Regions from separate parts of the Homo sapiens genome. Here regions 2, 3 and 4 are each linked to region 1. The links are contacts of gene promoters, found by promoter capture Hi-C in blood cells and fetal thymus (Javierre and others, 2016). All regions are on one chromosome and are shown on one strand. Each heading gives the region's core, a stretch centred on a gene start or on the middle of the fragment in contact. The rest is flanking DNA. Distances are from core to core; before and after follow the strand shown.

What was found. The method cuts DNA at HindIII sites, captures the fragments that hold promoters and counts their contacts. A CHiCAGO score of 5 or more calls a contact.
Region 2: a contact is called between a fragment that was not itself captured here and the fragment with the promoter of CRYBB3 in region 1, in 2 of 17 cell types (M0 macrophages and M1 macrophages). The highest score is 7.8, in M0 macrophages.
Region 3: a contact is called between a fragment that was not itself captured here and the fragment with the promoter of CRYBB3 in region 1, in 2 of 17 cell types (M0 macrophages and M1 macrophages). The highest score is 12.2, in M0 macrophages.
Region 4: the fragment with the promoter of MYO18B here is called in contact with the fragment with the promoter of CRYBB3 in region 1 in 2 of 17 cell types (M0 macrophages and erythroblasts); the score reaches 9.3 in M0 macrophages.

Annotation. Positions count from the first base shown.
Region 1 is chr22:25,197,466-25,203,498 of GRCh38, reverse strand. It overlaps CRYBB3 (crystallin beta B3), which reads right to left and starts at 3,641. Exons shown (of 6, transcript NM_004076.5): 1 at 3,590-3,641; 2 at 2,028-2,122; 3 at 707-825. The coding sequence starts at 2,102. The HindIII fragment of the contact is 15,596 bases long and covers 1-6,033 here.
Region 2 is chr22:25,784,112-25,790,144 of GRCh38, reverse strand. MYO18B (myosin XVIIIB) reads right to left here. Exons shown (of 44, transcript NM_032608.7): 11 at 4,654-4,717. Among named protein-coding and RNA genes, the nearest start is that of MYO18B, 45 kb to the right of the region's middle. The HindIII fragment of the contact is 7,595 bases long and covers 1-6,033 here.
Region 3 is chr22:25,767,947-25,773,979 of GRCh38, reverse strand. MYO18B (myosin XVIIIB) reads right to left here. Exons shown (of 44, transcript NM_032608.7): 4 at 4,552-5,865; 5 at 3,804-3,870; 6 at 2,996-3,108; 7 at 1,470-1,646. Among named protein-coding and RNA genes, the nearest start is that of MYO18B, 29 kb to the right of the region's middle. The HindIII fragment of the contact is 952 bases long and covers 2,267-3,218 here.
Region 4 is chr22:25,740,025-25,746,057 of GRCh38, reverse strand. It overlaps MYO18B (myosin XVIIIB), which reads right to left and starts at 3,870. Exons shown (of 44, transcript NM_032608.7): 1 at 3,765-3,870. The HindIII fragment of the contact is 14,245 bases long and covers 1-6,033 here.

The DNA.
Region 1 (6,033 bases), core at 2,392-4,891:
GCCCGGTACACAGTAAGTATTCCATAGGTGACAGTGACTTCTTCCTCTTCCTTTTCCTCTTCTTTGTATTGTATTGTTATTAATATGTATTTATTTGCATCATTCCATTCATTTTCATAAAAACTCTCTCTGAAGTACGTACCATTGTTATCCCCATTCAACAGATGAGAAAACAGAGGCCTGGTGTGTGAAGCAACTTGCCGAAGATCACCCAGATGGTTAGTGCCAGAGCCTGGACTTGCAATCCAAAGGCGGGAATTCAGGGCCCAGCTGGGAGACCTGCCTGCCTTGTGGACATGGATGGGACACTTACCAACTTTGGCCTCAGTTTCCCCATCTATAAAGTGGGAATAAGAATGATACCTCTGTCACAGGGTCATGACGATTCAATGACATAATGCATGTTAAATTTTAGGTGTTACAATTATTATTAAAATTATAAATATTAAATCCCATGTTCCAGTCACTGAGTTAGGTGCTAGGTTGACCTTGCTGTTCTTCCAACCTCAGGTATCCTGGGATTTTCTGCAGACATCTAGGATTCTAGAGAATTCTTCAACTCTCATTTTACAGATGCGGAAAACGAGGCCAGAGAAGGCAGGGGAGCTGTCAAAAGCCCCACAACAGATCTAGAGCTCAGACTGGGGCCTCCACACTCCCAGAAGGCTCAGGGCTGTGGCGAGGGACTGGGGGTCTAGGTACTCACGGCCCGGACTCCACTTGGATGGAGCCCACCTTCTCCAGCAGGCTGTCGGTCAGGCTGGGGCACTCGGCCGAGAGCTCGCAGCGTTTGCCTTGGAAGTTCTCTAGTTCGTACAAGATCACCTAGAAGAGCAGAGTCCTAAACATCCCACCTCTGCTAGGCTCCCAGCTCCAGCCTCTGCCCCTCCTTTGGGCATTAGAGGGAGGTACCCTCTGCTTTCTGCATCTCTCCAGCCTGGAGCTGGCACTGAGGTGGGCCTGCACTGCCCTCTAATGGTCATGGAGGGAAACGCCTTCAGGAACTTCAATGAGACCAATTAAACTAGTGATTGCAACTCTGATGTCCAGCAGGAGCCAGGTGGGGAGTCCAGCGGACTGAAATAACCCGAGAGGTCGGTGGGGAAATGAAGCTGCTTCTGGCGATGAGGGAATGAGGTCCCAGTTCCAATTTTTTCAAGAGAGGTCAGAAATCTGTATTTTCCTTAATAGGAAATTTCCCCCTTAAAAAAATGAAAACACCTGTTTGCAGTCTCGGGGAAGACCTCTGCCTGCCCCAAGCCTAGGAAGAGAAGGGCTGCAAAGGCAGACCAAGGTTTTGCCTCTCTCACCCACCTGGAAACACAAACTGACTTTGTAGAAGATCCCCAGGGAACATCTGTTCTAGTCATTTTACAGAAGGGATCAAAGAAGCTCAGAAAGGGTAAGATACTTGCCTCGGGCTGCACAGCAAGTTAAGAGGAGGCACTGGGATTCGACCCATCCTTAGACTCTGTCTGGAATAGTTTCCCAAAAAGACCCCGGAGATGGTTTGGAAAGGGCAGAGCCAACACATTCAAACCTTCTCTCAGATTTCTAGTGTGCCTCCCTCTGCTAGCTGGCTTCACTCATGTCTTTCAGCCTTTACACCAACTCTGGGCACAATATCTGGGCACCATCCTCATTTCAAACATGGGGCTGTTGAGGCCCAGAGAGCCTCCAAACCCTGTGCCCTTTTCCCCAGAGTGGGCAAGACACCAGGCTGAGGTCAGACAGGAGAGTCAGAGCTCAGAGCCGTTTCCAGAAACCCCCGGGCCTCTCTGATCCATTGGTGCAGGCAGGATGTGGGTGACCATTTCTGTTTTGCAGACGAGGGAAGATGCAGCAAAGTCATGAAGCAAGTTTCTAACGGGAGGGTGGCAGTGAGAGGACCCACCCGGAGCGTTTTGTCCTGGCCTGGGTGGTTGGAAGGATGGCTCTTCCTTCCTGCAGAGGTGCTGCTTGGCTGGGAAGATGACCCTGAGGCCCAGGAGTAGCCTGGGCCCTCTGACCCCCTCCCTGCCCAGTACCTTGTAGCTGCCCCCAAGGTCTCCATGGCTCTTGCCAGCTGCAGCCTGTTCGGGTGCTCCGTGCTGTTCCGCCATCTCCCCAGGAACACCTCTGGCTTCAAACCAAAAGAAAATGGTTCACTGGATCCACCCGGGAGAAGCCAGGTGTTGATGTGACTGGAGTCCAGGATGAGCTACAGAGCCTTGCTGCCCATGGGGCGTGGCTGTAACTTATGATCGACATTCAGTCATTCAGCAAACATCCATTGAGCACCTGCCATGGGCCACGTGGACTGAGACAGTGGGATCAGGAGCCCCATTGTACAGAGGGGAACTCTGAGGCTCAGCAAAGTGAGGCCACTTCCTCAAGCACACAGTGAGGAAGTGGCCTGGGTCGGGCCTGGCTCCAAAGCCCGTGCCCTTTTCCCCTGATCCAGATGCTCCCCGAAACCCAGGTTTCTCAGAGCTCTCTGCAGATGTCCCACCCCCAGAACCTGGCTAAAGGGTGGGCTTCAGGGAGTTTCCTCTACAGGGGTCTCTCCCACCTCCGTACTCCAGGAACTCTTTTGTTCACTGGTTACTTTATTCAACAAATATTCCATGAGCACCTACACAGTGCCAGGCTCTGGGCTGGGTGACCAGGAGGGACAGGAGACCCCATATGTCGGGAGGTGGACAGACAGACCTCTAGAGAAAAGGCTTGTAAGACCAGGTCGTTGGACACCTGCTCCAGGTCAGTTTCCCTGCGTTCGGTTACTCATTCCTTAAGCATTTATTGAACACGACTGTGTACCAGCCACTTCAAGACCCAGACACCGACAGTTCTTCATTGCTACAGGGACAGTGACACGCAATACAGGCCCCTGCCGCAGTCACATGGAAGGATTCTCATCATTGTTGCACCCATGGACACACACAGGACTGTTCTGTTTGTCAGCACACACACATAGGTGCACACACTCGCAAAAGTTTCTATGGTCACTATCAGTTATATTTCACCCATGGGCTCACAGGACAGCTTCTTTCTCTCTCTCTCTCTCTCTCCTCACACACACACATCCCTGCCCATTTCAGACATCCACAGTGGTAAACAAGGCACCTACATCTACACCCCACATCCAACTGTTACCCACCCACGGCTCCCAGCACGGCCACCCCAGCATGCACAGCTGCACAGCCCACATACTCTGGATGTGGGCCTAACCATGCACAGCCTGCGGGCTGTCGGTTCTGTCTCTCCTAGCCTCAGCAGGAAACAGGGCTTGGTCCAGCTCACAGGGGACTCTCGGGGGACTTGGCAGGTACCATGTGTGCCCACTCCCCTCCCTCAGAGGAGCTGTTTTGGAAGGTCCCCTGCCCTAAGCACATGTCCAGGGGCTTGGACCCTGGCCACTGCAGACAAGGGTCCCTCGTTCCACCCCCAGCTGGGCTGTCAGGGTCCTCTCACTGGGACCTGACCCTTAAGGGAGGCGCTGTTTTTCTTTGCAGGCGGTCAGCCATGCGCGTCCCACAGAAACTACAAAAGGTCCGGGCCTGCCAGGGTGGCTTTTGCCTCCCCACCCCCAACCCATCCCAGAATGAACCTGTTGCTGTAGCCTCGGGAAGAACAGAGGAGCCACGGCCGTCTGCAGACTCGCCTGTCTTCGCAAGGGGCATGCTATTTATGAGCACTTTCTGACAGCCCAGCACATCCCAGCCTGCTGAGGCAGCACCCTGTCCACCCAATTCCATCCAGGCCACTTCACTCCAATAGCGGGTCCACGGAGGCCCCCAGTGCCTGTCTCCTCAGCCACCGTCTCTGATGACTTCCTGGGGACAGATGAACCTCACTGGCTTTGTGGGAAGCCCAGCAGCGCCAGGCAAGGGGCACGGTGTGCAGCTCTCCCGTGTCTCCCCACAACCACCAACTCCCTTTCTTTGGTTTCTTGGGGTCACCATTTCCTATTGAGTCACACGCAACCTTTGGAAAAATTCTAGTTCTTAAAGTGAGGGACCCCAGACACTCTCCAGTTTCCATGTGCCATGTGGCCTAAGTTTTAAGTCAGATCACGCTAACCATACTCTCCAACTTGGGCGCAAATCCACCCAACCGTTTCCATAGGATGCCGTCACAGAACTCACAGACTGACTTTCTTCATGTAGAAGACACGCACGAATAATAGCTACCATTTCTTGAACACCTACTACACGCAAGGCATTGTGCCAGCTTCACAAGCATTGTATGGAATTCTCATCCAGCCATCCTTAGGGGAGGAATTCTGATTCCACTTTATACATGGAGAAACTGAGTTCAGAGAGGTGAACCCATTTACTCAGAATCACACAGCAGAGAGAAGGGGCTGGCCTGCTCCAGGACCTGGGATCTTAGCCTCAATAGAAATAAAAGTGACCATCACAGTCAACTTATTTATGACCAAAGAAAAAAGGTAGATCCAGGTATTTTTATTTTATTTTTTAGAGATAGGTTGTTGCTACATTGCCCAGGCTGGACTCAAACTCCTGGGCTCAAGCAATCCTTTCTCCTCAGTGTCCTGAATAACCGGAACTACAGGCACGTGCCACTGCACCCAGCTTCCAGGAATTTTTTAAGTGTCTAACAAAGTATAATTTTGCCTGTAATCAATATCTAATAAGTGATTATTTTATGAATAAAATTATATTGGAGCAAAGGAGTGAGTTAACAAGGTTTTCTTTTGTTGTTGTTGGTATTTGTTTTTGGCTAAAATCCTCAAGTCAGCATAAAACCCAGTTACAGGCCGGGCGCGGTGGCTCACGCCTGTAATCCCAACACTCTGGGAGGCCGAGGCAGGCGGATCACGAAGTCAGGAGCTCGAGACCATCCTGGCTAACACGGTGAAACCCTGTCTCTACTAAAAACACAAAAAATTAGCCAGGTGTGGTGGCGGGTGCCTGTAGTCCCAGCTACATGGGAGGCTGAGGCAGGAGAATGGTGTGAACCCAGGAGGCAGAGCTTGCAGTGAGCTGAGATCGCACCACTGCACTCCAGCCTGGGCAACAGAGCAAGACTCCGTCTCAAAAAACAAACAAACAAACAAAAACACAGTTACCCTGTACCCCCTAGAGGGAGATGGTGGTGAGATGCTGTGGATGACAGCTGGACTCTGAGTCAGGCAGATGTGTGTGACCTTGGACGAGTTCCTGAAGGTCTCAGAGCTACTGTCTCCTCACCATAAATGGAGAACCTTCTCTCCACTTGGGCCATTTTGGGAGGTCATGCAAGCAAAGCACTGCGCACAGTATCTGTTATTTTTGACTTTTATTCCCAGCATCCTGCCTACTCTGGACAGTTCAAGCCAAGGGGCTACTTCCTGCTGAAGGTCACAGAAAGCAGTCGGTTTGGACCCCCTGAGTTGGGATGTAGTTGCCACCAGCTGGGACAGAAGGAGGAAGGCAGAGGTGGGGATGGCGTGGCTCCCCCTCCCATCACATCTTTGAGGACCTTGCAGACCTACTGCACGCTCAGCACTTTGATGTACCACATCTCCCCAATCTAGACTTTTCAACCTTGACACTACTGCCATTTGGGGTCGGGTCATTCTTTGTGGTGGGGTCGGGGTGGGAGCTGTCCTGTGCACTGCAGGATGCTGAGCAGCATCCCTGGCCTCTACTCACTTCCTGGAGCATCTTCTCTCCTTCTTGTGATAACCAATAATGCCTCCTTTCATTACCAGACATGCTCTGGAGGGCACAATCCACCCAGCTGAGAACCACCACCTTAAACTGTTACCTGCAAAAATGTCCTGATCACCACTCCCATTGTATAGCTAAGGAGAACCAATGTTTAAAAGAAATCCCACAGCCAGAGGGTGGCAGGAGGAGGACTCAACCCCTTGTCAGTCTGAATGGAAATCCTGCCTTGTTTCCATGGCCTCCCATTCTGCATGGACACCCTCTCCCAGGACCCCAGCTCTGCCCTCTCGCTGGCTGGCCCACAGCTCAGCACAGGACAGACTGACTCAGCCAGCCCCAGTCAGGGCCTGCATGCATGGGAGACTCTATTCATTCA
Region 2 (6,033 bases), core at 1,141-3,640, 590 kb before region 1:
GTCTCACGCTGTCGCCCAGGCTGGAGTGCAGTGGCGCAATCTCGGCTCACTGCAACCTCCGCCTCCTGGATTCAGGCGATTCTCCTGCCTCAGCCTCCTGAGTAGCTGAGATTACAGGCACCCGCCACCACGTCCGGCTAATTTTTGTATTTTTAGTAGAGACAGGGTTTCACCATAATGGTCTGCCTGGTCTCAAACTCCTGACCTCAGGTGATCCGCCTGCCTTGGCCTCCCAAAGTGCTGGGATTACAGGCATGAGCCACCATGCCCGGCCAGAAAGTTTTAATGATATACAGTTTGTTATGAATTATGTAAAATATTTGCAGGAAAAATACTGGAAGAACACCTGCAGGTATAGGACCAGTGGGTTTCTCAGGGTGGTGAGGTGAATGGCGCTTGTTTTCTGGTTTGCTCGAGTGTGTGTGTGTATTCTGGTTTTTGGTTTTGCCCTTGTGTTTTTTCTGATTTCTCCATAGGAAGTATGTAGTAATTTCGTTATTTTTTTTTTCTTGAGACAGTCTCGCTCTGTCACTTAGGCTGGGGTGCAGTGGTGTGATCTCAGCTCACTGCAGCCTCTGCCTCCCAGGTCCCAGTGATTCTCCTGCCTCAGCCTCCCAAGTAGATGGGATTACAGGCACGTGCCACCACACCTGGCTAATTTTTGTATTTTTAGTAGAGATGGGGTTTCACCATGTTGGCCAGGCTGGTCTCGAACTCCTGACCTCAGGTGATCCGCCCGCCTCAGCCTCCCAACGTGCTGGGATTACAGGTGTGAGCCACTGAGCCCAGCCATAATTTAGTTTTTTGTTTTTTTTTTAAACAGATGCTTCATTAAAAATATGAATTAGAAGAGAATAGAGATAAATTCAGTAAGAGGGAAAACAAGACGTGCTGCCAAGGAACATGGAATGGGAACTGAGTGGCTAGGTAGCGTGTCTTGCTGTTGGGGAGCAGGCTAAGCCCTCCCAACTTGCCCAATGCTGCCATCCTTGATGATGGAGGAGGAGGAGGAGGAGGAAGAGGAGGAGGAGGAGGAGGAGGAGGAAGAAGAAGGAGGAGGAAGAAGAAGGAGGAGGAGGAGGAGAAAGAGAAGAAAAAGAAAGAAGGAAGAAAGAAGAAGAAGAAGGGCTGACATTGGAAGTGTCAGGCACTGCCGAAGTACTTCATTGGCTTTATCTCATTTCATTTGAGGTCAAGGTGGACTCTTGCTCTCCTAGTTTTCGAAAAGGAAAAAATCGAGGCCCAAGGAGATGAGGTCACTTGCTTAAGGCCACCCAGCTTAACCGCTGGTACTGGGATTCGAACATCACTACGTCAGACTCCACTGTCGCCAGTGAGTTTTCAGTGGAGATGGAACCAGCTGTTACAGATGAAACAGAAGCAGAATTAATCATAGTACGGGGGCTGGCTAGGAGGAGAAGGAAGGAGGAGGGCTCAGCCAGGGATGAAGTTGGGTTGAAGTTGGGTTGTAGAGTTGCCAAAGAAAATGCAAGCCATCCAGTCAAATCTGAATTTCAGATAAACAATGGATAATTTTTTTCATAAATATGTCCCCCACAATATTTGGTACAGCAAGAATGCTGGCCTCACTGCATCTGACTACTTTCACTCTCACTCCAGGACCAGCTTGTGGTCCACTCCTCCAGGCAGCCTGCCCTGATAGGCTCCCAACCCTTCAGGCTTCCCTGTGCAATATTTGGGACATGCTTATACTAAAACATTATTCAATGTTTATCTGAAATTCACATTTAACTGGGCATCCTGTATGATTTGCTAAGCCTGACAGCCTTGGGGACTTAGCAACTCCCATTATTGGGGGACATATCCTGATCACCAGATTCCCTTAATGAAGCTGTACCTGGCCTGCCCGACCCCAGTAACTAGCCCAGGCTTGTATCAAAGACCAATGAATTTTCAGACTTTATTTTTCTTCTGAAAGAACAGAGAAAACATTCTCTTGATACCTGCCAGGTAGCAGAGAGAGAACAAAGAAACACCCTACCAGTTCCTGCAAATCAATTGGTCTAAAAAATGCCCCACAGAAATAAAGAGGAAAAAAAGCAAACCACTTCAAATGCTTCTTTGACACAAATTCACGCTGTGACCAATGGCTTTATGCAGACTGTTAACAAACAGGTCAGGTTGGGGGAAAGCTCAGAGGACCCCAGCTTGGGTCCTTTTCCTTCTCAAAAACAGTAGGAAAATAAACAACTACTCTTCTGCTGATTCATACGGATATTTTGGGCCAAAGCTCATTAAATGAATGAGAAAAATCAGTGCTGAGGTAATTTCTCATCTCTTGCCTTCAAGGTGGAGGTCTGGGCTCCTCATGACCCCAGATCACGGGGTAAAGGGTATGAAAAAAGAACACACTGCTGAGTCCCCCAAGTAAAGAAGCTGCCCCCCTAGTATTTGGTTTAGCAAGAATGCCAGCCTCGTTGCATCTGTTCATTTCATTCTCATTCCAGCTTGTTTCATGCATGAGTTTTGAGAATGAAAGAAATTTCATTCTCATTCTCATGGCCAGCTCTTGGTCACCTCTTCCAAGCAGCCTCTCTGATATGCCCCCAACTCTCCAGGCTTGCCCATACAATATTTGGGACATACTTATAAGGTGACAAGTAGATTAGCCCCCAGAGTTCAAAGACGGGGCAGACACATCACCTCACCCAGTGCAGAAACAGACTCTACAACAGTGGTTCTCAAAGCGGGGTCCCTGGACCAGCAGCATCAGCATTGCTGTGAACTTGTGAGAAAGGCACATTCTCAGGCCTCACCCAGAGCTACTGAATTAGAAACTCTGCAGATAATACTCAGCACTGTGTAAGACAGACTGTGTGTGTGTGTGTGTGTGTGTGTGTGTGTGTGTGTGCGCGCGCCTGCACGCACACAGGCTTAGCAATTTTTTTTTCTTTTTTCTTTTTTTTTCTGAGACAGAGTCTCGCTCTGTCTCCCACGCTGGAGTGCAGTGGCACAATCTCTGCTCATTGCAACCTCCACCTCCTGGATTCAAGCAATTCTCCTGACTCAGCCTCCCAAGCAGCTGGAACTACAGGCATGTGCCACCACGCTCAGCTAATTTTTAGTATTTTTAGTAGAGATGGGGTTTCACCATGTTGGCCAGGCTGGTCTCAAACTCCTCACCTCAGGTGATCTGCCCACCTCGGCCTCCCAAAGTGCTGGGATTACAGGCGTGAGCCACCGCACTGGCTGAATTTCTTTAATGACCAATGATGTTGAGCATATTTTCATGTGCTTAGTTGCCATCCATTTACATTTTTTTTGTATGTTCCATATTTTGCCCATCTTTTTTGTTGGGTTGAGTTTTGAGAATTACTTTTATATTCTAGATAAAAATCCTTTATCAGATAAGTGATTTGCAAATATTTTCTCCCAGTCGGTGGCTTGCTTCTTCATACTAATAGTGACTTTAAGAGAGCAGATGCTGTTCCTTTTGATAAAGTTAATTTGTTCTCTTATGGACTGGGATTTTGATGTCTCATTTAAGAAATCTTTGCCCAGCTCAGGGTTACAGAGATTTTTCTCACCTTTCTTCTAGAAATTTTGTGGTTTGAAGTTTTGCAATTAGATCTGTGACTCATTTTTTGTTAATTTTAGTATATCATGTGAAATATGGATTTTTTTTTTTTTTGCACCAGGATATCCAATTATTCCAGCACTATTTGTTTCCCAGACATGTATATTTGAAAAGAGGCTTTGGAGTGGAAATTATCTACTTCCCTCCATCTGGTGAACTCCTATTCATCCTTCAAAACCCAGGCCAAATGTTCCCTTGGCTAAGAAGTCTTCCCTGGCAAAGTCCAAGTAGCTCTATCAGCTATCTTGTGGTGCCCGCAGCATTTCATGCAACCTCTGACATATTCTTATCTCACATGATTGCATTAATTTCCAAGTCTGTGTCTCCTGCTAAAGTGAAAATCCATGGATGAGGATCATACTCCTAGCACTCAGCAGGAACATACACCTAACACAACACAGGCCCAGCATAGGTGGTGATGAAGGTATTTGCGAGAGAAGGGAGAAAACAATGGTTAAAATAATTGAATAATAAAATATCAAACCAGTGAACCATTTGCTTTTTTAAGCAATGAAATACCTAACTCTCAGCCCCACTCATAGACTATATTCATCAGGAAACCATCGCTGAGTGCCCCTACCCAAGTTAACCACCACTAGTACTGACAAAGAGCACCCTATTGATTGATTTAGGCCAAGCCCTGTTCTAAGCACGTTATACACATCATGTCATTTCACCCTCACAACAACCCTATGAGGCAGATACTGCTACTATCATTACTGTACTGAAGAAGAGACAGACCTACCAGGAGGTTAAGGTCCATGCCTGAGGTTCACCTACGTAACAAGTGTCAGAGCTGGGGCTTGAACTAGACTGATTCCAGGGCCCTAATCCTACCTCTACGTATACTATGTCTGGTTTCCTTTATTTGTCTGAGTCTTCTTTACCCAATAAGCCGAGACCCTACAAAGGCAGTGCCAACTCTTCCACATGACCAACCCTTGCCAACTATGAACCCCAGTACCAAAAGAGACAAGTTGCACGGCGACTCATCACCCTCCCATCTAGCCCCAGACACAGACTCACATCCCACCCGTGAGGGACCTCCTCCTTACCTTGGACCACACGCCCATGCCAAAGGAGCTGCTATCTGCCATCTGGTGCAGGTTCAGCTCCGTCCTGGAAGCACAGAAGGAACCAGGAGTCAGGGGGGCTGTCCACACCAGCCCTGGCAGGGCAGGTGGTCGTCACAGTGTGAGGCTCCACACAACTGCCCGGACACCCCAGGGGCTGTCCCTGTCCCTGGCCTTGGCCCCACTAACTCTGCCCTGGGATATCTTCAATCTCCCAAATATTCCTCACGCACAGCCCTCACTTGGCCCTTCCTAAAGGCCAGGAAATCCCAGGAGAAAGGGTTGTAGAGGAAAATCAGGAGAGCAGGGACTAACCCCAGATCTTCTAATCAGCTGAGCGACCTCACTCAAGGATAATATTAAAACAGTCAACATGAACGAGCCCTTACTGCATGCTAAGTCCTAAGATGACTCATGACAGCCCCACTCCATGGGTACAAATATTATTTCCATTTTACAGTTGACAAAACAGAGGCACTGAGAGTGGGTACCTGCCCCAAGACTTCACAGCTAGCAAGCATGCAACCAGAAGCTGAGCTGAGGTCTGTTGGCCCCTCGAGCCCAGACTCCGCGCTATCCTGCCACGTGCACCTCTCCCGGCCTCAGTCTGCACTTTATGAAGCAACACAATGTTTAAGGCTCCTTCCCGTGTTCAACCTGCAGGTTCCTCGAGAGTGAGACCAGCAGATGGGCCACCCACTTTTGCAGGCTTGAGGAATGCAAGCCAAAGGCGGGGTGGGCACAGCTATGCCCCCTGCCCCTTCGAATCACACTCTCTACTCACAAAAGCATTGTAGAGCCCAGCCTAGGATCCCCAATCCCACGTTGGTTCAAATTGGTTCCTGGAAAGTGGGGATTACTCATCAGTCTCCAGCCAGCTTGTCTGGTTCTGAGGCCTTCAGTGTCCTCTCCCTGGATTCTCTACAGACCCCACACCCCTCTCTGCCTCGTGACTTTGAAGGAGTCTTACCAGCTAGGCTTCAAGTCCAACCCCAGTGCTGCCATGTGGCAGACAAGGTAATTCTCTTCTCTGCAACTCACTTTTTCTTATCTGTAAAATGGGCCCCCTACTCTACTTGCCTCCCAGGATTAAATGAGATATTATACATAAACTCACACTGCCAGGCTGGCATGGAGTAAGTGCTCTGTTTTCCTCACACTCTCTTCCATTCACTGGAAATTAAATCTGACAAATAATTAAGAAGCATCTACCTGGTGCCAAGCCCTGGGCTAGGTACTGGGAAAGCAGAAAGAACAATGACAGGGCCCCAATTCAAAGATCTCCCAGTCCATCTGGTGAGGAAGGGAGACTGCGCTGGCAGGTTTTTGAACCAGAAGCACATACCAGGCACCAAAACAGTA
Region 3 (6,033 bases), core at 1,493-3,992, 570 kb before region 1:
CTCCAGAAGAGCACACAGGTAAGATGTCTCACCTCCGACAGGCCTCCCTGCCTCCACTGAGCCTCTTCCCATCTGTCCTCCACCCAGCAGCCAAAGGCATCCTTTTACAACCTAAGTCACAGCATGTCATTGCTCTGCTAAAAACCCCAGTAGGGACTCTCTCTAAGCCTACTCTGGCTCAGGAGGCTGCCCAGTTCATAAAAAATAGATACAAATCGGCCAGGCGCAGTGGCTCATGCCTGTAATCCCAGCACTTTGGGAGGCCGAGGCGGGCGGATCACGAGCTCAGGAGATCGAGCCCATCCTGGCTAACACGGTGAAACCCCATCTCTACTAAAAATACAAAAAATTAGCTGGGCGTGGTGGCGGGTGCCTGTAGTCCCAGCTACTCGGGGGGCTGAGGCAGGAGAATGGCGTGAACCCGGGAGGCGGCGCTTGCAGTGAGCCGAGATCGTGCCACTGCACTCCAGCCTGGGCGACACAGAGAGACTCCGTCTCAAAAGTAAATAAATAAATAAATACCCATAGTAGCTGCCATCCCACTCAGAGTGAAAGCCAGAATCATCACCCTGAGAACTGACACGGCTCTGTCCTGGTTTTTCCCAACCTCTCCCACCTCTTCCTCCACTCATCTGCTCGGGCCACTCTTATCTTTATTGTTGATGGACTGTCTTTTCTTCCTAGAACAGCAACTCCACAAGGGGAGGGTTGCTCGCCTGGCACCTTCCCTGATGTTCTTTGTGCGTGGCCCGGTAGGAGACCCTCAATCAATAGCTCAATCACTATGGGTTGAAGGAATGAAGGGGCCCACGCTTCAATGACTCGGCTGAGGTGCCTCGTGCGTCCACAAGGTGGCGCTTAGAGATTTCCTTTGCTCTTGCCCATCTCAACAAAAATTGGCCGTTTCTACACTTCCGAGGAAAAAAACTAAAGTACAACTGAAGCTTCTGTTTCCCCGTTGATGTGGGTGCTCAGGACTCCTGAGAGTTCAGCATGGGATGAAGAGCACACAGGAGCCCTGTATCCTGGGTTTTCTCCCAGCAACTCTGCTCGCTAGACCTGAGAGTTTAGCCTGCGCCTGGCCCAGCCGGCTCTTCTCATCTGTAAAATGGGCTAATCACAGTACCTGTGTTTTCAGGTGGATATGTGAGACTCAACTGAGTTAATACAAGAAGGTGCATACAGCAGTGTCTGGTAGAGTTCACACTCATTCAGTATTTTCTTTCGTTACTCTTGTGATATTTAATGCTGCTGTTTCTGTCCTAATGGTGACTGATCTTTCCCTCCAGGGAATGGGGGAATCTCATGGTCCATGCCACAGGATGCCACAATGCCGCGAGAAGGATGCTGCTTGCAGACAGGTCGACTGGGGGCTCTGATGGTTCTACTGTCACCTCAGATGCAGAGGGATCCCCCCAGGCCCCCCTGCCCTCAGCCCCTCAGCCCTGCCCACAATGGTCCCACCTCACCTTCCCTGCAGAAGGCACCGAGGGCCCCCGGGGCTGGAGGACAATCAGATCAGGCCCTGTGCAGGTGTGCAGCAGCTGAGCTTTGTAGCGCTGCAGAAGCGTGTTCAGGACACTGGATTCGTTGACACTGATGAGAGAGGCCAGGTCCTCGACCTGGTCCAGCTCAGGAGGGTTGGCCTGTGAAACCATCACACAGAGTCTCCTCTGGCCTTCTGGCCTTCTGGCCCCCTGCCCCCACCCCACCCCCCCGCAACCAAACACACACTAAGCCCTCCTCTTGAGAGCTATGTGCCAAAGACCAGAACAGAGCACAGGGACTCTGGATGGAAAGCAATGAAGCCCTACAAATAAAATAGGGCCATCCCTTCTCCTTGCCCTCTGTGCAACCTATGAGGCACCCCCTCTTCGCTGTGGTCCTGCACTCCATGCACCATGAGGGGAGACGCTCCCAAGGCAGACTTGACAAAATTCAAAACACTTTCTGGATCTCAAACACCACAAAAAGACAGGTGATGCTCCAGTGTGTGCGAGCATCCGCTGCCATTTCCTCCTCTTCTGGGTCTTACGAGGAAGCTCTCAATATGCTCCATGATACCCAGGAGTGGAGGCCAATGGCCAAACCACCTCACTGGTCTCATAGCCCATCATGCATTGATTCCTAGGAAACCACCCAAACCCTTAGAAGCAAGGGTTATGTGAAGCTGCTTCTTAAAACATCTGTTCTAAGAGGCGTCCTATTATTCTCTCCAGCTTCAGTGAGTTTTCTGAACCTGGTAGTCTCAGGTTTGGGCCAAGCTTGAGCCCTCTCATGGATCAGCCTTTCTTGCAAGGCCACTGAGCCTCTGTAAATGCCCAACGCGGGAGAGAAAGCCTGAGGTGGGCAGAGGAGGAGCAGAAAGGAATGCAGATGAGCAAGGAGGAAAACTCCTAAGATAGCAGGCTGTGAGGGGCGGGGGGAAAGGGCATGACAGAACCTTTCTTTTCTATCACTACACTGGGACTTGTCCTCAAAAGGATTTATGGTGCACAACAAAAATGTATTCAAAGCAATTTAAAGAGCAAAGCTGAAAGAAAGTTTGATGCCAAAATATAGGCCATTAGAACCTATGCTATGGTTAATGGCAAGCAGCAAATTTGGCTCTGAGTTCCCTGGCGGCCAGAGTGAAAACAGAAACATGCTGTGTAGTATGATTTGCAATATCCAATATCTATAAATTAAAAGCAGTCATTTTCTTGGGTCCATCAGAAGAACTCCCAGGGCCAAGACCTGACAAACATGTTCTTTGATGTGTCCTCATTAAGGGAAACCACAGGAAAGGGTGAATGACCCCCTAATAGTACCCCTCCAGTAGAGCAATGAGTTCAGTGGGGTTCTTCACTATAACTCCCTCCAGGGCATCAAGCCAAAATGGTATTGGTAGTCAGGAACAAGGAAATCTCTTGCAGGACTGGGGAAGGAGGGTATGGAGCTGGGGTGAAGTGGGACAGGGGACTCATGCTGGGGGACGGCGGGACAGGGGACTCACCCGATGGACATGCTCCTCATCCACCTCAGTGATGGTTTTGTCAGCATCAATCCAAAGTCTCACCCTTCCTGCTGGCAGGTCTGCTGTTCCCTCATCTGGCTTTAGCACCGTAGCTGGTTGGACATCCCAGAGAGAGAAGGGGAACGGGGAGGAGATGGGAGGGGAAGAGGGGAAAGAGGCGAGGGCAGGAGATAAGAGAGGCTCTAAGCCGGGCCAGCAAGCTTGGGAGAAGGCTTGGGACAGGTCTCCATTTGGGGTCTATTCACTTGGAGCTGAGTTGTGACCCCAAATCCTTTAAGGTCAGGCTAAGTCTGACTCACCTTAGGCTTTTACCAGCTGTCACAGTGCCAGGCACAGAGCAGGCACCCAGACAGTTGGGTACACTGGCCTATCTCACACACAGACTGCCATTTCCCCCTCCAGTGCCCATGGCAGACATCACTAATCAACCACTCTTCCCAGCCATGTTCAGACTGAGACTCAGCATCACTTCTCAGTAGAGTGCAGTGATCAGCCACAACCAATCGACAAAAGTAGGCTCATGAGATCAAATCTATTGGCCCACTTGTACCAGACTCTGGCTTCCTCGAAGAACGCCGTAGGAAGAAAGCATGCTTGTTGCATTAGTGAGTTACAGTAGGTAAATAACTCATTATCAAGACACAAATGCCTTTGAAAGACAGTCTCCACTGCTCCTCTTCCCTCCTGACCACCAAAGTATAATCAGGACCTGGAACATATGGCTGGCAGCAGTAGGGGGCACAGGAGAAGACTCAGACCCTCCAAAGGTGCTAACACCCCTACTTACCAAGAGTAAATCCATCCTTCTGAGCCAGCCAGACTTTCTCTGCCTCATACCATCTGTCCTCAGGAGCCTGAGAACCAACATCACGTAAATTAAACCAGCAAATGGCACCGCTGCCCATCTTCTACCTTACACGGGGGTTTCTCACAGTGTGCTCTGGAGCCATCTAAACCAGAATCTCCTGGGGGAGAACAGGAGAGGGAGTGTGCTTATTTAAATGCAGATTCCCGTTGCGGACCCGGGAGGTGGAGCCGAGATCACACCACTGCACCATCTAGCCTGGGTGACAGAGCAAGACTCCGTCTCAAAAAAAAAAAAAATACTACATAAATGCAGATTCCTGGGCCCCACTCCTGGCCTTTGAAATGAGAGACTCCATGGCTGGCCCCAGGAATCTGCATTTTTAACAATCTACTCGTTATGCCATCCCGTTTGAAAGCTGTCGTGTGACATCATAAGCAAGCTCTACCATGTCAGCCGTGAGGAGACACCTCACACTTTGGGGACCTTCCCTCACTCTGTGGGGAATTCCCACCCCAGGGCAGGTGCAATGGAAACTTCAAGACTTCTGCTCATGGAGGAAGTGCTCGTCCCCTCCTCTGGGTGCCTTGCAGTTCCAGCCACCCCTCTCCAATTCCCTGCCCACCCCCCGTCCACCCCTTGTCCATCCCTGGGGCAGATCTTTCCCATCCCTGCATCTCTGGAGAGGCCTGTCTGCCGCTTCCCGCTCCCAGGGCCGCAGCCCCCTCACCTGGTCTGAGTCTCTGCTCTGGCCTCCTTTGCCCTCCTCCTGCGGGGCTGGCCCGTCTTGGTTCTCCTTCCGTATCCGAGGCCTTTCTGCATCCTTCTCCAGAGCAGGCTGGCTGGGTCCTTCCAGCTCTGTCTCCAGGGCACCAGCCCCATCACCTGCTCTTGAGCAGGGCTCCTCTGCTTCCTGCCCACGGCTTCCTGGCCAGCCTCCCTTCCCAGGAGCTGCTGGCGACTCCACCATTGTGCTCACCTCCTTTGGGGCTTCACAGCCCTTCTCTGTCTGACTCCGAGCTTCACCTGCGTTCCCGGACTTACCCTGGGGTTGCCCCATCTTTTCCTTCTTATCCCAGGACTCACCTGCCTTCCCAGTCGTGCTCCGAAGCTCACCTGCTTTCTCCCCCATTCTCAGATCGTCCCCCAACTCGCCCTGCACTTGGCTTGTCTTCTCCATCTGGGTCTGAGGCTCACCTGTCTTCTCTGCCTTACTTAAGAGCACCCCTTCTTTGTCCTTCTTATTCTGGGGACCGTCCCACTTACTCCTTCTTCCCAGGAAACCTCCCCACTTTCTCCCAGGGATTTGGGGCCTTACGTGCTTCCCTTCACTCCCTACGTCCTTAGAGACATTCCCCTTTTCCACCGTGTTTGTGGGCTCTGCTCCCTCCTTCTCTGCTTTCCCTGGTCGCACCCCCTCGCCGGGCCCTTGGGCTTGGGGCCTGGTCCCCTGCCTGTCTTTGCCCTGGGGCTCAGCCTCTTTCAGCTCTGTGGTCTTGGGGGTCCCAAGCCCCTTCCCCACTATGCTTTGACCCTCCTCGCCTTTTTTCAGTGCCACAGTTCCTTGGCCTGGGTCCCCAAGACCCCCAGTCCGGGTCTTCTCAGCTTTCGGGGCCAAGATCTCGGTGCTGGCCTGGGAGCCACAAGGAGTCCTAGAGGTCTCCCCTTTCTTTTCCTTTCCAGTATCTGTGGCGGGGGGAGAGGTCTTGCAAGGGGGGGCGTCATGGGGATGAGTCTTCTCTGGCTTGGCTGAGTCCGGGTCCAGCTTGGCCACCATCAACAACACATCACCCCTCCTCACGCCCCTCTTGAAGGGGACAGTCTTTTTGGTTGGTGTCGCACTGGAGCCCAGCTCCTGGGCCTTCTCACCATTGATGCTTGTCATCTGCTCAGGGTCGGGGCTGCGGGACCCCTCGCTCTCCTTGCCCAGAATGTCTGAGCTCCCAGGAGAGCTTGACTGGTCGTCCTGAGAGATCTGCTGGCTTCCAGATCTGGTGCCACTGCTGGACTTGCTGTTGGGTTGGCTGATGGAAATTTCTGGGATCTGGGAGAAAGAACACAACCATGCCTACATAGCTGCTTGCTGACCTGACAGCTTTGTCATTCACTCGTGTTCGTTCATTCATTTCATTGTTCACTTCTCCATTCATCCTTCCACAGATGCTCGAGCACCTCCAAATCCAACAGGCATGGCCAAGCCTAGCACCCTTGA
Region 4 (6,033 bases), core at 2,621-5,120, 540 kb before region 1:
TCTGGCAGGAAGGTATTCAGTCCTGCTTTTATTTCACCCTGGATAACCTGGGGTCACTCCAGGCTCCAAATCTCACTTCCTGGCCTGTAAAATGGGGCTAATAACTCACGCCCAAGCTCACTGGAATATTAAGCGTGAATGAGACATTTAATCCCATCAAGCAACCATCTCTACCTCAACGCAACAGTTAATCCAGCTGCCCTCCATGAAATTGAAACTCAAACCCCAGCTGGTACCCAAGAAACAGCTGAAAATGCATTCCATCTTTTATGGGCAGAGAAAAATTCACTTGAAACCCTGAACCTTGAAATTCTTGCTACCCTACACATGAGCACTGGCCAAGGGGTAAACTCACTTTGCCGATTCTTGAGGATCTTTCCTCTGTTGCCAGAAACTACAATTCTTAAAAGTAAATCAGCATCAGGGAGAAACACAGTAAAAAAGAAGCAGATAGGGAAAATTATGAAACTGGATGAGTCAGGCTGTGGGAGAGGAGAGATTCATATGAAGCTAATGGTGTCTCTGGATCCTTCAGACTGAATGAGATGTGTGTGCGTGTGTGTGTGTGTGTGTGTGTGTGTGTGTCAGAGAGAGAGAAATCTACCTTGATGTCCAAGGCCCTTGTTTGTGTCATAAAGTTCATTTTCTGCCAGGCGCAGTGGTTCCACGCCTGTAATCCCAACACTTTGGGAGGCTGAGGTGGGTGGATCACTTGAGCTCCCAAGTTTGAGACCAGACTGGGCAACATGGTGAAACCCCATCTCTACAAAAAGTATAAAAATTAGCCGGGCGTGGTGGTGCACTCCTGTAGTCCCAGCTACTCAGGAGGTTGAGATGGGAGGATGGCTTAAACCTCGGAGGCAGAGGTTGCAGTGAGCCGAGATTGGGCCACTGCACACCAGCCTGGGTGATAGAGCCAGCCCTTGTTTCAAAATAAAAATAAAATAAGACGCAATTTATTTTTGCTGCCCCCATTCAAATGAGAGCTGAGGTTTATCCTTTCCTTAAGATCTTGGTGCGGGGGGATAATATATATGGTGGATTTGACTATTATTTCTAACATAAGGGGCTCGTGGTTGCTCCCTGAACACCAGCCGTGACAGCAGGGGCTGATCTTGGCCCAATGCTCTTGCTGCAGGGCTGTGTGTCCTTGAACAAGTGGCTTTCCCTCTCTGTGCCTCAGCTGCACCATCTCTCAACAGGAGGGGTTGGATTTGGCAGCACTCTGGAGGGGAGGGGGATCCTCCCTGGTCTCAAACCCACCTCCTCCATTTTTCAGAAAATTTAATTTCATTTTGTTTATTTTTATTTTTATTTTTATTTTTGAGACGGAGTCTCTCTCTGTCCCCAGGCTGGAGTGCAATGGCGTGATCTCGGCTCACTGCAAGCTCCACCTCCCAGGTTCATGCCATTCTCCTGCCTCAGCCTCCCAAGTAGCTGGGACTACAGGCACCCACCACCACGCCCGGCTAATTTTTTTTTGTGTTTTTAGTAGAGACGGGGTTTCACCGTGTTAGCCAGGATGGTCTCGATCTCCTGACCTCGTGATCTGCCCACCTCGGCCTCCCAAAGTGCTGGGATTAAAGGCGTGAGCCCCCGCGCCCGGCCACTTTGTTTAAATATTAAAGATATGCCACACACCACAGCAGCTGACCATGTGCTTCAAATGGGCCATTCAGACAGTTGTTTGTATCTAGCAGGACCCAGTGAAGGGCCATCTCCCCATAGCCTTGTAGGCTCACAGCCCCAGGTCCCTATCTTTTGGCAGCTGGAAGTGGTTCTGCTCAGTTTGGGGGCCCTCCATTCCCACCTCAAAATGCCATAGAAAGTCTTGATCTTACCCCTGGAGGAACACCTGCCCAATAAAATCTTTGCGATAGTTAGACCCTAATAAAGTGCTGTGCACGTTTTCCATGTTTGTGAAACATGGAAATTCCATGAGTTTTGACAGGGCAGGTGCTGAGCAACAGCCTTCTGTGGTTTTGTTAGCTCAAGTGAAAGGAAAAGCTCTTCTCCAATTTGGGTGGGCACCAGAACCACCTGTGAGGTTTAAAATCTGTGGATTTCTGGGCCCCTTCCCCCAAGACTGTTCAAAAGGTCTAGGATGAACCCAGGAATCTGCATTTTAAAACAGCCCCCCGCCTCCTGCCCCACATGAGTCTGATGGGTAGGTCGTCAACGACCGTCACTTCAAGAAAAACCTTCCTGGATGCTGAATCCTAGGAAAGATCCCAGAGGTGGTCTAGCCCAACCCCCTCAGGTTTTAGAAGGAGAAACTAAGTTCCGACTGGGGAGAGTACTCATCCAAGGTTACAGAGCCCACACCAGGATATTCAAGGTGACCAGGCCTGGAGGCAGGTGACATCAAATATTTGTTGATTGGTAACATGCAGCCCTTCAAAAGCCAGGAGACCAGGAGACTCCCTCTCCTCCTCCTCTTCCTCCTTCTCCTCCCTCCTCCACCCACTTGGCCTTTTCTTTTGGCCTTTTCCTTTGCTATTATTCTTCTCCTCCTTCTTCTCTTTCTCCTCCTGCTTTTTTCCTCCTCCTCCTTCTCTTCTTCTCCTTCTCCTCCTCCTCTTCCTTCTTTTCTCTCTCTCCTCTCCACTATTATTTTCTAGAACTCATCCATAGCCTAAGAGTATATAGACCCCTCTCTTTTCTGCTCCCAAGGTACACACTGGACATGGTACCCAGGCATAGGAGAATACAACTTAGGTCAGCAATGGATACAGCACCCAAGGCCACCATTATCCTTGTTGGAGTCTAGAAGCCCTAGTGGGACACTCAGCCTCCATGAGCTGGTGCACTGAATGAGGCAGCATCTTTTTGGACAGCCACAAAGTGAAAGTAACAGCCTCGTCGTATTCCAGGCCCTACAGGATAGAAGCCCAGATCCCCACACTTGCGGGTTGAGGCCAGACTGGACAGCTTGGAGCCGACTGGGAGCCGACTGGGCTCCCCATTCCGGGCCTCCCCACTCCTGGCCTCCTCCATGGAAAAGCTGCAGGAAGGCAGCAGCCCAGAGGCCTGTAGCTGGTGAGGTCTTCTCCTCTCCTGGGAGAGAGCTCCATGTCAAAGCATAGCCCCCTTCTGCCCCACTATGGGGCCACTGGGACCTGTGAATCTTCTTCATTCAGAGAAATGCCTGCTATCCGGGGTGCCAGATAAGACACCTTCCCTCAGACAGAGCTCAAGGAAGGTGGCATGAAATTGAAACCTTCAGCCATGAACTTCCATTGCCCTTCCCCCAACACTCATACATGCTTAATTTGCAGTTTAAAAAAGAACATTAAAATTAACATTTCGACTCAACAGCGTTGTTAACACGAAAGGGGAAGCCTGGCTCTTCCCCGACCATAACTGAACACCAGTGAAGCAGAAATTACTGGTAGTTGAGGAAAAATATAAACCCTGACGTCTGCGGGCAAAGATTCACAGTGGAGATTAACTCATGATTCTAAACACATTTTTAAAAATTATTAGCGAACAGCTGGGGCCTGAGGAGAGTGATTCTTACGAATGTCCATTTGCCCCAGCATTTTGTTCTCAAATCCTTCCACCGAAACACTCTTGTTTTCAAAGTGAGCAGCACGGGCAACAGGCAAAGGAATCAGGCCTCGGAAGCTCTCAACACCAGAAAGGCCTAAAATAGACCAAAAGACCGGAGGCCTGCCACCGCAGCCCCCAGCAGCGCATTCCGGAAAATTAAAACTCGCCGATCCGCTCGCAAGGTGCCCGTCTAAAACCCAGCCCAATAGTACCTTCTGCAAAGAGGACACAGATCACAGGAACCACGACTGTCTAAGACGTCTCCCCGGGTGGCCGCGAAGGGACCCCACCGAGCCGGGAAAGCAGGAGCGAAGGAGCACCCTCTCCACACACACCGACACACATCCCTTCCCCTTACTGCCCCTCCCCGACCCGTCCTCCCCCCACCCTCCTTCTGGGCCAATGTGATAGCAGCAGCTGAGTCGACCAGTCATTTCTAAAATTAGCTTGTGAGCTCCAGGTCTGGCCAGGAGACGGCAGCCCGGGGTGGCCGTTGACCAGGCAGCAGAGACCATGGACATATTTGGTGGCCCCTGAGCAGGGAAGGGGACAGCTCTGGACACAAGCACATGCTCTCTCGTCATCCCTGTCCCAGGGCAGGGCCACACACCCACACTCCCGCCTCTGCCCACACAGATAACCAGAGGTTGCAGGAACTGTTTGAGGAGGAGAGCTGGCCGGTTCTACATTCCAGGCAGACTCTGGAAGAAAATAACTTGAATGAATGCTGGTGCGTCGTGGTAAACAACCAGTGCATGTAAACATACCTTATGCTTAGGTAGTGGTTATCGCATGCCACACACCGAGGGCTTTCATGAACTCACTTAATGTTCCCTATGAGGTAGGGTTTTTCCCCAGCCCCACTTTACAAGTGGGGAAATTGAGACACAAAAAGTTAACCAACTTGCCCAAGGCCATGGAGAGCCAGAATTCAAACCCAGGCTGTGCGGGCCGTAGAGGAAACAGACACAACAGCAAACTAGGGGCTATAAAAAAGTGCTTTGGGCCTGGCACGGTGGCTCACGTCTGTAATCCCGGCACTTTGGGAAGCCGAGGTGGGCATATCACGAGGTCAGGAGATTGAGACCATCCTGGCTAACACAGTGAAACCCCGTCTCTACTAAAAATACAAAAACAAAATTAGCCGGGCGTGGTGGTGGGCGCCTGTAGTCCCAGCTACAGGCGGAGCTTGCAGTAAGCCGAGATCGCGCCACTGCACTCCAGCCTGGGTGACAGAGAGAGACTCCATCTCAAAAAAAAAAAAAAAAATCAGCTGGGTGGGGTAGTGGTTGTCTGTGATCCCAGCTACTTGGGAGGCTGAGGCAGGAGAATTGCTTGAACCCAGGAGGCGGAGGTTGCAATGAGCTAAGGTCACGCCACTGCACTCTAGCCTAGGCGATAAGAGACTCTATCTCAAAAAAACAACAACAAAAAAAGTGCTTTGTCCACTGCCTAAAAGGAGCAAAGTACAGACTTCAATAAATTGGATAAACCATGCAGGTCCATGCAGCTAGCAAAGGGTAGAGTCATGACTCAAATCCAAGTCTTTCTGGTTCCAAAGACCGCAATCAGCCCAGCATGATACTGCTCCTGTGAGAATTGTTTCAATAATTGCTATGTGGTGCTGCTCCTCTTTCCCCAGAGCTCATCGAGCAATATTTTCCCAAAGTACTCACTTCTGCCGAGGTCTTGAAAATTAGCATTCAATCAGAAGTTCATTGAAACACTAAGGGAAGGCTGCTTAGAAAATGGCAGTCTAGGCCGGGTATGGTGGCTCACACCTGTAATCCCAGCACTTTGGGAGGCTAAGGCGGGTGGATCATTTGAGGTCAGGAGTTTGAGACCAGCCTAGCCAACATGGTGAAACCCCACCTCTACTAAAAATACGAAAATTAGCTGGGCGTGGTGGCGGGCACCTGTAATCCCAGCAACTCGGGAGGCTGAGGCAGGAGAATAGCTGGAACCCAGGAGTCAGAGGTTGCAGTGAGCAGAGATGGCGCCATTGCACTCCAGCCTGGGCGACAAGAGCAAAACTACATTTTGAAAAAAAAAAGAAAAGAAAAGAAAGAAAAAGAAAATACAATATACATAATATACATGAGGTTGAGGAGGGGTCCCTGCGGCCCCCAGTGGAGAGTGGCATGGGACATTTAGGCCACACCAGGGGAAGAGTTTGGAGACAGGTCCCGGTGAGCTGTTTTCTCCAGGTTGTGCTAGATCATTTGACATTGAAACAAGAACCTCCCTTCTCCCGCCCCTTGCATCACAAGTCCTGAACCATTGGCTCCTGGGCTTTTCTGTCCTTGCTGTCTTTCCGACGCTGTTGGTCTGAAGTGGTAGAGTTGACATGCAGAAATGATTCTCTGGGCCCAGGGCTGGGACTCTCTATAGGCCATGACCTGCAGTGATGGTTCCGTTGACTTGAAGGGACCTCCGTTCCCCAAGGAGTCAACATGGCATGTGTTTGCTCCATTCACCTTG